Regions from separate parts of the Homo sapiens genome. Here region 2 is linked to region 1. Evidence: promoter capture Hi-C in 16 types of primary human blood cells and fetal thymus (Javierre and others, 2016). All regions are on one chromosome and are shown on one strand. Each heading gives the region's core, a stretch centred on a gene start or on the middle of the fragment in contact. The rest is flanking DNA. Distances are from core to core; before and after follow the strand shown.

Region 1 (6,174 bases), core at 2,404-4,903:
AAGATAATTGCCAAGGCTTACTCTTCTTTCACTATCTCACAAAAAACCCAAACAAAAATTAGGAGATGTGAGCAAATATTACATTTATTTAAAAGGTAGAAAGTCAGTATGTAGACTACTAACATTTAGAATGGACAGATGTTGACTTTCAGTCTAATTAGTCAACATTAGAATATTTTCTAGAATATTTTAAAATGAGAATGTACTTGATTATAATTGTGGTAAAATGATTAAAACTAGTAATATGCTTGTTGGTTCAGTTTTGTCAGGAATTGTCAAGGGTTTAACCTCTTATCAGGGCTAGAGAGAGAGGTGTTTTGAACAGTATTTCATGTAACAGATTACATGAAATATCAGGTAATCACATAGGTGACATAGTTATTATAACTATTCTAATTTTCAAAGACGCCTTTCCTTGAATAGTGTCATAGCTCTAGTACTTCTTAATATGCAAAGGATTAAGAGCTGATAGAAAGATTCTGTTCATTTTATTTTATTTTTTATTTTTTAAGACAGTGTCTCACCCTGTTGCCCAGGCTAGAGTGTAGTGGCATGATCATGGCTCACTGCAGCCTTGAACTTCCGGGCTCAAGCGATCCCCCCACCTCAGTCTCTTGAGTAGCTGGGACTGCTGGTGCACGCCACCATGCCCTGGCTATTTTTTTAAAATTTTTTTTTAGTGAGGGGTCTCACTTTTTGCCCAGGCTGGTCTCAAACTCCTAGGCTCAATCCATCATCCCACCTTGGCCTCCCAAAGTGCTGGGATTACAGGCATGAGTCACCTCACCTAGCCTATTCATTTTAGTTTAAGGAACATTTGAGTTTTATTGTCTAATAATCAAAGTGTTTTGTCTCTAAAGTTAGCATTTCAATGTAAATATCTTTTTCAAATAATTCTCAAAGGTCTTCCTCTGGTTAAATGACTTGCTAGGCTTGTAGCCTTATGGAGGATCAAACAAGAAGTCTTAATGCTGAATCTAACCCAGAATTAAGAAGCCATGTCTTTGAGCTTTCAGACATAGAGGTACCTTGGGTAAGAATGGAATAATGAAATTGAGACCATTCTCCAGTTTAATTTAGTGAATCCTGAGCATCTACCATGTGCAAGATACTGTGCCAAACACTGGGGTATGTAGAAAAATAGGTAGTCTGCACACAAACTTACACTCGTGGGAGAAGGCATTTTTAGAATTTACAAAAGGTAATGGGTTCAGCTTTGTAATAATGGTAGAAATTGTATAGTAGGCATAAAAGAGACAAGTTATTTGAGCTGGCAGAATTTGGAAGGGATGTCTGATTTCAATAGGTAAAAGAGGGCCGGGGTGTGTTTACGGAATAGGATATAAGTAACAGTCTGATGAAAGAGTAGGGTTCATTTAGGGAACTACTGGGACATTAACCTGAAATCATACCTTGTGGTTACATTGTAGAAGGTTTTGAGTATTGGCTGAGGCATACCACTTTAAGCAGTTGGTAAAAGGGGAGCTGAGAGATGTCTGAACTTAAAACTGGATAGGCCTCACTTCTAATTCCCTGGGAGGCACCCTGGTCATGGGGCCTCTGCAGGCTCTACTCAGTGTCTAAAGAGATTTGGAAATCACAGTGGGAGTTCTGTTCCTCCTTTCCAGTTGGCAAGTGAGGTGAGATACTGAGGTATAAGATAATAGCTAATGTTTGTTGAGTATTTCCATGGGCCATTATTTTTCTAGATACCTTACAGAAGTAGCTTTAAATCCTCACAGTAAGCCTCTGAGGCAAGCGCTTTAATTATCCCCACTTTACAGACAAGGAAACCGGCTGGTTAAAGCTACTTGCCCAAGGCTACACAGTTTGGAAGAGGGAGGTAGAGCCAGGATTCAGATCCAGGCAGCCTGGCGTCAGAGTCCAGGCTCTCCTGCTGCCGAGACTCTGAATCAGAGATCTCTGTTAATAGAGTCCTATCAGGTTACTGAGTGTTGTGGGGAGTGCTGTGGTGACTTGAGGATATTTATGGAGGAAGGACATTTATTAACAAGGATCTGGTGTGAGTGACAGTCCGGAACCTGTAGACACATTTAAGCAGTTCACCTCCAATGTGTGACCGCTTTGTAGAAAAAGAGGTTAAGAGAGGTCAGCTCTAGGGCTGAGCATTTGGCTTACTTTTTTGGGATTCAGAAAATCTTGAGATTTTCTGCATTTATCTTTGCTCACTGAGTGTGGACAAAGGTAGAATAAAGGTAATTACTCTTTGCAAATACCAAGGCTGCAGGGTTCCAAGAAGAGGTGTCGAACTGTGGAGATATCACTGAGTTTGACAATTAGGAGTCTATTCCTGATAAAGTTTTAAGGACCCAGCTAGACACCATGAAATGCGTCAAAATAAGGTGTAAAAAGTGGAAGCCTGGCTTCCTCTATGGAAAAAAAAGTGGAGACCATTAAGGGAAGGAAACAAGAATGGTCATTAGGTGATGAAACAGAATCAAGGAAGGGGTGTGTGTGGGTGTGTGGTTTGAGTGGTGTTTGTGTGTGGAGGGTGTGTGTGGTGTGTGGGTGATGTGTATGTGGGTGTGTGTTGTGTATGGATGTGTGTATACGTGTCACACACGTGTGTGTGGTGCATATGTGGGTGTGTGTGGTTTGTGGTGTGAGTGGTGTGTGTGGTGTATGGGTGTGTGGTGTGTGTGTTTGGGTAGAGAGGTGCTGCATTTTTGTAGGCAGAGAGAAGGAAACCAGTGGAGAGGATATCCAAGAATGACAGGTGAGCCATGTTTGCAGGAGGTAGAAAGTGGTCAAGTAAACAGACGTCTTTCCCCACCAAGTAACCTCAGGTCTAGGGACTTCTAAACTTTGCGTTTTCCCTCTTCTTTCCTCCAAGGTGCGCCGGACATCTTTCAGTAACTTGAACGAAGTTAAGGAGTTAGCTTTGGAAAAGAGGGACTCTTTTCCCTCTGTGACTATATGGAATAAATTTTGAGATAAGGGACCTTACTGAAAAAGACTGAGATACATTTTGAGTGAAAGGCATGGTCTCAGTGAAGTAGTTAAGGGCCTGTGCCGAGCAGATGGCGGTGATGGGTTTTGTGGCCTAAGAAGGATGGAGAAAAGTAGGAAGCAATCGAGACAAAGCCTACTCTGTCACAAAGAGGCGACTAGATGTGGCGAAATGTCATGAAACTTGGATCCCGAGGAATTAGCTGATTGAAGGTGAAACCTGACGCCTTTCAGCGCCTACCAACAGGAAAGGTCTGCATCTGCCCACGGAAGGACGAAACCTATCGGGGGGGATTTGTTGGCGGGGGATACTTCTTTGCGCATAGAGTGACTGGCGGTGCCCTGGAGACCCAAACTGAATAAAGTAAGCATTATTTTCAAATTCGCCAAGACCTTGAAGGCGGCGCCAACGGGAGCCGTCCCCCGGGTCCCACGCAGCGCAGAGCTCCATTTCCTCCTCCGGACTCGCAGGGCGCGCGGCTTCCTCGCTTCAAATCCAGGAACGCGCTGTCCCCACCAATCACCGGGCTTCTTCCCGCCCCATGTCTTCCCGCTGTCCAATCAAAAGCCAGCTCAGTCTCCTCCCCTTGCCTGGTGCCGCGAACAGACGTAAACCAGAGGCGGGCGCGGTACGGCCGTTCCGGGCTCCAGCCGGTGCGGGGGCCACGCGCACGCGCACTTGCAGTGCCCTGGGACACCTCTTCAGTCCGTGGACTTTCCCGCTGCACACTGCCCTCCGAAGTCGGGGACGCGGGCTCGGTGAGGGGGGACGCTGGTGCCTCGGCCTGCGCCTAGGCGGGAGGCAGACGCATGCACCTTTGGCCTACGTTTCGGCTGCCGGACCGACGGGACAGTGACGGTTGGGCCGGGTGGGGGCGCAGGCTGTGGGGCGGCCTCAGGGCGCGAGCAAGGGGACTGCCGCGCTTCCCGCGCCTCTGCGCCTGGCGCAGCCTCTGAGCTGAGCTCCGCCTGGTTGGGATTAATTGCACGCCTCTGTGTCATCGGGCTTTGGCCGGGCGTGATGAGACAGACTGTTAGGGGATCACGTCCTTCTTTCCTCCCCTCTTGTCTGGGGACTTCCACCTCTTGAGGGACAGGCCCTCTCCGTGCTACCCTCTGGAGTTTCTTGCAGTGTGCTTGTGAAGTGACCGGTGATGTTTCCTTTATGTGCCCTGTGATGGGCGGTTCTGTTCCTCCTTTTTGTTTAAAATTCTGACCCAGGAAGTAACCTTGTTAACTTAACTTAATGCCCTTGTCTTCCGTTTACTCACTTGATTTGGTTTCTGCTAGGTTGCGTTCATTTATTCCTAATAGTTTACCTACATTCCTTGCCTATGATTTCATTATCAACAGAACGTGAAATGAGACGAATGTTAATACACTCTACTTTTACTTTGCTGTTACTTTCAGAGTTTGTTTAGTAAAACATGAGGACCTCTTCAAGTCAGTCGTTTGGAGAACAGCTGTTTATATGACCATATTTCCATTTGCTCTTACTATTTTGAGGTCATTCGACTGGCGTTTTTACTGCTCCAAAATCAACTTTTTCTCCAAATTTCAGTTTTCTAGGCAAAAACGGCAAGCCTTGAACAATAATATACCAAATGCCTACCTAGTTTTAAAGTATATCTTAAAGTGCCAAGAGTAAATGATGAGTTTTGGGGAAGTTTGACTCGGCTTTGGGTTCCACGGCGTGTGCTTTTAAATGTGTTTAATTGTATACATAGACCTACGATTAATGACTATAGTCAGTAATCTTTTATGTACCTAGGAATGTAATTAGTGAGTCCAGATGTGAAATTTGAGGTCACTACTTTAAGGAAATAGCAAGAGAAATTGCAAATATAGCCACTCAGTTCAAATAGGATAGAAGAAAAATATTGTCTTCACTTGAGATGATGGAGGAGGGGTGGGTAATGCAATAATGTGAGAAATTAAAGGAAATTTCCTTTAGGAATGTGTTATGTCCATGAATGGTTTACAAGTGTAATCTTTTCTGGAGAAGAGACTAGGTATTAGGTTACATCTTGAGGAATCTTCCCGTGGGTTTTGTTACCTTTGCACCCTTAGCAAAGCTCTGTTGAAGCACTTAACACTATCGTAGTTGACAGGGATTGTCAGCTCCCTGAGGGGAGCTGCCTTATTTATCTTTGCATTCTTGGTGCCAAGTAGAGGGTTCTTCATGGTTTGTGTTTGATAATGAATGTTGCATGAATGACCTTTGCATAATTTCTGAGTTTTCTTTGGATTAGGCCCTTCTAAATAGGGACAACTGTTGAAGAGTTTTCTATAAATTTTAATAGTTTACATGTCTGTATATGAATGAATAACTTAGTAATTACAAGGCTAGACTTGGGGAGGCTAGTTGGGAGACTCGTGTGATAGTTCAGAATAAAAAGTGATGGGCAACGGGCATTAGGAATATAGAAGTGGGTCTCAGCTCCAGAAGTGTATTTGACGTTAGAAGCATTAGAATTTGGTGAGAGAGCAGGAGGGATCAGGATGGTCCTAGGTGTCAGGCTTGTATTGCCAGTTAATAGGGATGGATTTGGGTGAAGACTAAAGATAACGGCGGGAATGAATGGAGGAAAGGTAACAAGTTTGGTTTTGTATTTTGTATTGCATTCGGGGGTAAGGTAGATGTCAGAGAGCCATTTGGAAGTATGGTCGTTCCCTCAGGTTATCCATGGGATTGGTTCCAGGACCTGCCCTTGCCCCAGGATGCCAGAATCCTCTGGATGCTCAAGTTCCTTACATAGATTGGTGTAGTATTTACATATAACTGATGCATATGCTCCTGTATATTTATTTAAGACAGGGTCTCACTTTGTTGCCTAGGCTGGATTGCAGTGGCTATTCACATGCATGGTCATAGCTCACTGCAGCCTCAAACTTTTGGGCTCATGCTGTCCTTCCACCGTGGCCTCCTGAGTAGCTGGGACTCCAAGGCATGCACCACCAGGAGGTGGAATTAGTGCAGAGGAAAGAATACCCTGGGGCCAGACTTGCCTAGGTGGGAATCCTCTGGCCTCATTTGTGCTATGTGGACTGGAAACGTCTCTTAATTCTCTCTTTCAGCCTCAGTTTCCTCAATAATAGGGATGATGGCTACCTTACAAATTTGACATGGGGATTAGAAAAATGTATGTGAAATAATTAGCACATTACCTAATAATAGACACAGTATCAGCAAACTAGGGGTTA
Region 2 (6,174 bases), core at 1,069-3,568, 260 kb before region 1:
TAGGTCAGAACATACCTTATCTGCTGTAGCCAAGGACAGAAAGGCTGGTTTTTCATGCAGCCATGGGGTGAGGCATGATTGTGCGTGTTCCCCAGTGGGTGTTACAGGGGCCTGCTCTCACAAGTAGAAAACTCTGTGTGGGGCGAAGGGAGATGATAAGTGATCTTATGGTGTGGCGTCTTTTCCTTTCCTAAACCAGGTAGGTTATCGTAGCTGTAAAAACAGACACACTAGAGTCAGCTCTTGTACCCTATGAAAGAATACTGATTCTTATTTTTATTTCTTGTAGCTGTTCTAAAGAAATCCAAATGGCAGTTCTGCTGAAATTTGTTTCAGAAGGGGACAACATCCCAGATGCATTAGGTCTTGTTGAGTATCTTAATGAGTGGCTTCAGATACTCAAACCACTTGTAAGTTCTATTATAGCTTAAGCCTCTTCTTTGTCTGGTTGTATTCATTAACTCGCACTTTATATACTACCTAAGTAGACCAAGTAAGTGAACGTTTGTATTAAATATAGACATATCTTTACATAAAATTTAGTTTAAGCTGAACTTTTGAAAATTAGAGGACAGTTAACCAACCTATTATTTACAGTTTTTTCATTAAAGCTGACTTTCCAAAAAGGAAAATCCTTAGTTCTTCATTGTACTTACTATTCATGTTAGATTAATTATGCCAGACATAGTCTTGCAATAATAAACAAGCCTTCTGTGGAATTCAGGAATTTTTTTAGGGAAGTAAAAAGTATTGCTATGTGAGCAATACTGTAGCTATTGAATATGTATTACAGTTGATATTTTTCTCTATTATGAAATGAGAGCATTACACCCAGGGAAGTGAGTTAGCCTTTAGGCATAACAGAACACTGAGCATAAGGCTGCTTTCTAAGATGGGTAACTAGCTTTTTAATTCATGCTTTTGCCAAGAACAAATTGATACAAATCACATAATGCTGATTTTTTTTTTAATCCCTATTCTTTTTGAATGTGATTTTCCCTAATAAACTTCATCTACAGCCTTTCTGGCATATCTTTATAATTTGGAACTTAAAGAAATTTATCTTCAGTTGACATGAAGACAAAGAAACTTTATTTTTCCTTAACAATAAAACCTGGCTATAAAAGTGCCAACCAAAAGGAACACAAAAGGAGAGTTTTATAATTCACTTTAAAAGGAGATTTGATGGTAAAGTTTAAAGATTAAAATATTTTGTTCTTCAATTACAGAGCGATGACCCCACAGTATCTGCCTCACGGTGGAAAATACCAAGTTCTTGGAGATTACTCTTTGGCAGTGGTCTTCCCCCTGCACTTTTCTGATCTAATTTCTGTTTTATACCTTATACCCAAAACACTTACTACCAACACAGCTGTTAAACATTCTATACAAAAAAATTGTATGATCTGGTATTAGGAAATTACTTTCACAGTAAATATCAAAGAAAAAAGATTAAGGGTCTCTTTGCCATGCTTTTCATCATATGCACCAAATGTAAATTTTGTACAATAAAATTTTATTTCCTAAGTAATTTTGTCTTAAATGTATTTTTTTTAATTTCAGACTCTCTATTAGCTTCCTAGTTTGTCTCTAATAAATCACCACAAACTTAGTGACTTAAAACACACCAGTTTAATTTTTTCATTAACTAATTAATTAATTTTCATTCTGTATTTTAAGTAAAATGAGACGAGGTCTTGCCATGTTGCCCAGGCTGGTCTCAAACTCCTGGGCTCAGGCAATCCTCCTGCCATGTCCTCCCAAAGTGCTGAGATTACAGGCATTACACCACTATGCCCAGCCACAAATTTGCTTTTAAATTCTGACTTCTGAGTTCTAGGAGTCAGAAATCCAACAGTGGGTCTGACGAGACTAAAATCAGGGTGATCGCAGGGCACTGCTCCTGAGGAAGGCCTTAGGGAGAATTTGTGTTCTGCTGTTTCCAGCTTCTAGAGGCTGCCATATTATTTGGCTCATGGGCCCTTCTATCTTCAAAGCCAGCAGCTTAGCATCTTCAAATCTCTCAGTTATAAAAGGACCCTGTGATTGCATTGGGCCCACCCCAATAATCCAGGATAGTTTCCCCATTTTAGAATAATTTTACTATAAAAGAAATAATAAAAATAGTTATCATTTTCGAGTGCCTGCTGCATACTAGTCACTGTTCACCCCTAGTCTTTGGGATGTACGATTTCACTGTGTTACCTCTGTGCCTTGGCTCTCTCATCTGTAACACAAGGGCTTGTAATATTTAAGGATACAACTACTTCCCAGCACTCCGGAAAGGTTTCCTTTTGATATGTAAATCATGCTGGATTCTGTGGCCTATTTCTGTTTCCCTTTTGGTTAAAATATGAAATGGGGGTTGACATCAGCAAGATGGCAAAATAGGAAGTACCAGTCCTCATTACCCCACAGAGACACCAGTTTAATTTATAGACCAGGATACCAGAAACCAGTTAAGTTGCAGTATCCCCAGGTGAGTGCAAAATTAAGAACAGCCACGTTGAAATGAGTAAGAAGAGTCATTTCACTTTACTCCACCCAGGATGACAGCCCAGCATGATGGCGAGTACGCCAGCTCCTGGCTTTTCCCTGGGTTGAAGGGGGCAGACTCGGTGAGGGGGAGAGAGGTAGAGAACGTTGGAGCATGTGACCAAGATTCTGACTCTTTCGTCTTGTCTGACTTGGAATACTGACAGAACTGGCATCCTTTGGATGTCTGGAGTCTGCTAAAAGCACGGGAGAGTTGGAGGATCGTTTGCCGTGCCACCAGAGCCTGTAGTACCACAGACAGGCCAGTGTGGCTGGACACCACCAAGAGAAATCACCCAACTTGCATTTTCTCTCCCAGGAGGAATGGAACTTACACGCCAGCATTGCAGCTTTTTGTAGTGCTGCCCAAGGGACTGTTGCCCATCTCATCTAACTTGGGGTGCTTATAGGAAGCTGTCATGCTTTGCCAGAGAGCCACTGAGAACAAAGGGGCGACTTGCAGCTGCAGCACTAGGGAACGTGCAATTCTGAAGACAGACACCAGAGGGAGCAAGAGATTACAAGATGAAAAACCAGCAACCTTCAGTTGGGAAATAACACAATCCTAAAAAGTTGAACTTGGAAAAACATTTAAGAGGTTTCAGAATCTCTACCTGGGCTAGCTGGTGAAGGTCTGCCCTGTACAAAGCCAGTATGCAAAGATTGGGAGTGGCCGAGTGTAGTGCCTTACACCTATAACCCCAGCACTTTGGGAGGCTGAGGTGGGAGGATCACCTGAGGTCAGGAGTTCGCGACCAGCCTGACCAATATGGTGAAACCCCATCTCTACTAAAAATACAAAAAAACAAATTAGCCAGACATGGTGGCACACACTTGTAATCCCAGCTATGCGGGAGGCTGAGGCAGGAGAATTGCTCAAACCCAGAAGGCGGCGGTTGCAGTGAGCCAAGATCATGCCACTGCACTCCAACCTGGGCAACAGAGCGAGACTCTGTCCCAAAAAGAAAAAGAAAATATGAGGCTCACTGGCAAACTAAATATAGACAAATGCAGAATCCTTCAGGACTATAATGGTAGTGCACTTTTAATTCTGGTCCAGAATTGACAAGACAAAGCATAAAAATAACTGTAACTGGCCAGGCACGGTGACCCACACATGTCATCCCAGCACTTGGGGAAGATTTCTTGAAGCCAGGAGTTTAAGACCAGCCTGGGCAAAAAAGTGAAGCCCCATCTCTAAAAATCAAAACAAACACTGTAACTATAAAAATATGTTAAAATATCTTAATGGGTACGCACTATGTAAAGGTGTAATTTGTGACATCAATAATTTTTTTTTTAGCTTTTGCACAGCAAAACAAACAGCAGAGTAAGCAGACAACCCACAGAGTGGGAGAAATTTGCAAACTATGCATCCGACAAAGGAATAATATCCAGAATCTATAAGGAACTCAAATGAGCAAGAAAAAAATAATCCCATTACAAAGTGGCAAAGAACATAAATAGACAATTCTCAAAAGAAGATATACAAGCAGCCAACGAACATGAAAAAATGCTCAACATCGCTAATCATCAGGGAGATGTTAAGACCGCAATGAGATATCACCTTACTCCTGCAAGAACGATCATAATTAAAAAGTCAAAAAAACAATAGATGTTGGTGTGAATGTGGTGAAAAGGGAACACTTCTACACTGCTGGTGGGAATGTAAATTAGTACAACCACTATGGGAAACAGTGCGGAGATTCCTTAAAGAACAAAAAGTAGAACACCATCTGATCCAGCAATCCCACTACAGGGTATATACCCAAAGGAAAATAAGTCATTATATGAAAAAGACACATGCACACACGTTTATAGCAGCACAATTCACAATTGCAAAGATATAGAACCAACCTAAGTGACCATCAACCAATGAGTGGATAAAGAAAATGTGGTATATTCATCGTGGAGTACTACTCTTCAGCCATAAAAAGGAATGAAATAATGTCTTTTGCAGCAACTTGGATGGAGCCAGAGGCCATTATTCTAAGTAAAGTAACTCAGAAATGGAAAACCAAATATTGTACCTCTCACAAGTGGGAGCTAAGCTATGAGGGCTCAAAGGCATAAGAATGATATAATGGACTTTAGCAGGCCAGGCACAGTGGCTCACACCTGTAACCCCAGCACTTTGGGATGTCAAGGTGGGTGGATCACTTGAGGCCAGGAGTTCGAGACCAGCCTGGCCAACATGGTGAAACCCTGTCTCTACAAAAAAAAAAAAATACAAAAATTAGCTGGATGTGGCGGCATGTGCTTGTAGTCCCACCTACTAGGGAGGGTGAGGCACAAGAATCACCCAGGAGGTGGAGGTTGCAGTGAGCCAAGATTGCACCACTGCACTCCAGCCTAGGCAACAAAACAAGACTCCATCTCAGGGTAAAAAAAAAAAAAAAGAATGATATAATGGACTTTGAGGACTTAGCCAGGGAGGTTTGGAGGGGGTGAGGAATAAAACACTACATGTTGATTATAACATAGACTGCTTGGGTGATGGGTACACTAAAATCTCAGAAATCACCACTGAAGAACTTATCCAGGTAACCAAAAACCACCTGTACCCCAAAAACCATTGAAATAAAAATTTTAAAAATAATTTTTTTAAGATGAGAGATCTTGCTATGTTGTCCAGGCTGGTTTTGAACTCCTGAGCTCAAGCCATCCTCCCACCTTGGCCTCCAAAAGTGCTGGGGTTACAGGCATGAGCCACTGCACCTGGCCCTACATCAATAATTTAAAAGTAGAGTTGTAAAAGTGGTTTTTGTATATGATTGAGTAAGTTGTTATCAGCTTAAAATAGATTATTACAAGTATAAGATGTCTCATGTAAGTCCCAGGATAACCACAAAGTAAATACCTATATTCTTTCAAAATTGAAGTCAATCCTCTGAAACCCTGCCGCTGCTTTGTCAACTAAGTTTATGGAATATCCCAAAATCCTTTGTTGTCATTTCAACAATGTACACAGCACCTTCACCAGGAGTAGATTCCATCTCAAGAAACCACTTTCTTTGCTCATCCATAAGAAGCCACTCCTGATCTCTTCAAGTTTTATCATGAGATTGCAGCAATTTATTCACATCTTTAGGGTCCACTGTTAAATTTAGTTCTTTTGCTATTTCCATCTTGCAGTTACCTCTTTCACTGAAGTCTTGAACTGCTCAAAGTCATCCATGAACGTTGGAACTGACTTATCTTAATGTTGATATTTTGACCTCCTCCCATGAATCAAAATATACTTAGTGTCATCTAAAATGGAGAATCCTTTTCAGAAAGTTTTCAATTTACTTTGCCCAGATCCATCAGAGGAATCACTATTTATGGCAGCTATAACCTTAGGAAATGTATTTCTGAAATAAGACTTGAAAGCTGAGATTACTCCTTGATCCATGGGCTGCAGAATGGATGTTATATTAGCAGGCATGAAAACAACATTAATCTCCTTGCACATTTCCATCAGAGCTCTTGGGACCAGGTGTATTGTCAATGACTGGTGGTATTTTGAAAGGAATCTTTTTTTCTGAGCGGTAGGTCTCAACAGTGGGATTAAAATATTCAGTGAGTCATGCTCAAACAAATGTGCTGCCATTCAGGCTTTGATGTTCCACTGATAGAGCACAGGAAGAGGAGATTTAG

The links. Contacts are between HindIII fragments. The CHiCAGO score rates a contact against its expected background, and 5 or more counts as called.
Region 2: a fragment that was not itself captured here is called in contact with the fragment with the promoter of CEP192 in region 1 in 4 of 17 cell types (neutrophils, activated CD4 T cells, naive CD8 T cells and 1 more); the score reaches 9.4 in neutrophils.

The regions. Positions count from the first base shown.
Region 1 is chr18:12,987,709-12,993,882 of GRCh38, forward strand. It overlaps CEP192 (centrosomal protein 192), which reads left to right and starts at 3,654. Exons shown (of 45, transcript NM_032142.4): 1 at 3,654-3,729. RefSeq lists enhancers at 1,973-2,585, 2,976-3,355 and a silencer at 3,836-3,915. The HindIII fragment of the contact is 8,933 bases long and covers 1-6,174 here.
Region 2 is chr18:12,724,210-12,730,383 of GRCh38, forward strand. PSMG2 (proteasome assembly chaperone 2) reads left to right here. Exons shown (of 7, transcript NM_020232.5): 6 at 290-410; 7 at 1,230-1,531. The coding sequence ends at 1,322. Among named protein-coding and RNA genes, the nearest start is that of LINC01882, 22 kb to the right of the region's middle. The HindIII fragment of the contact is 7,922 bases long and covers 1-6,174 here.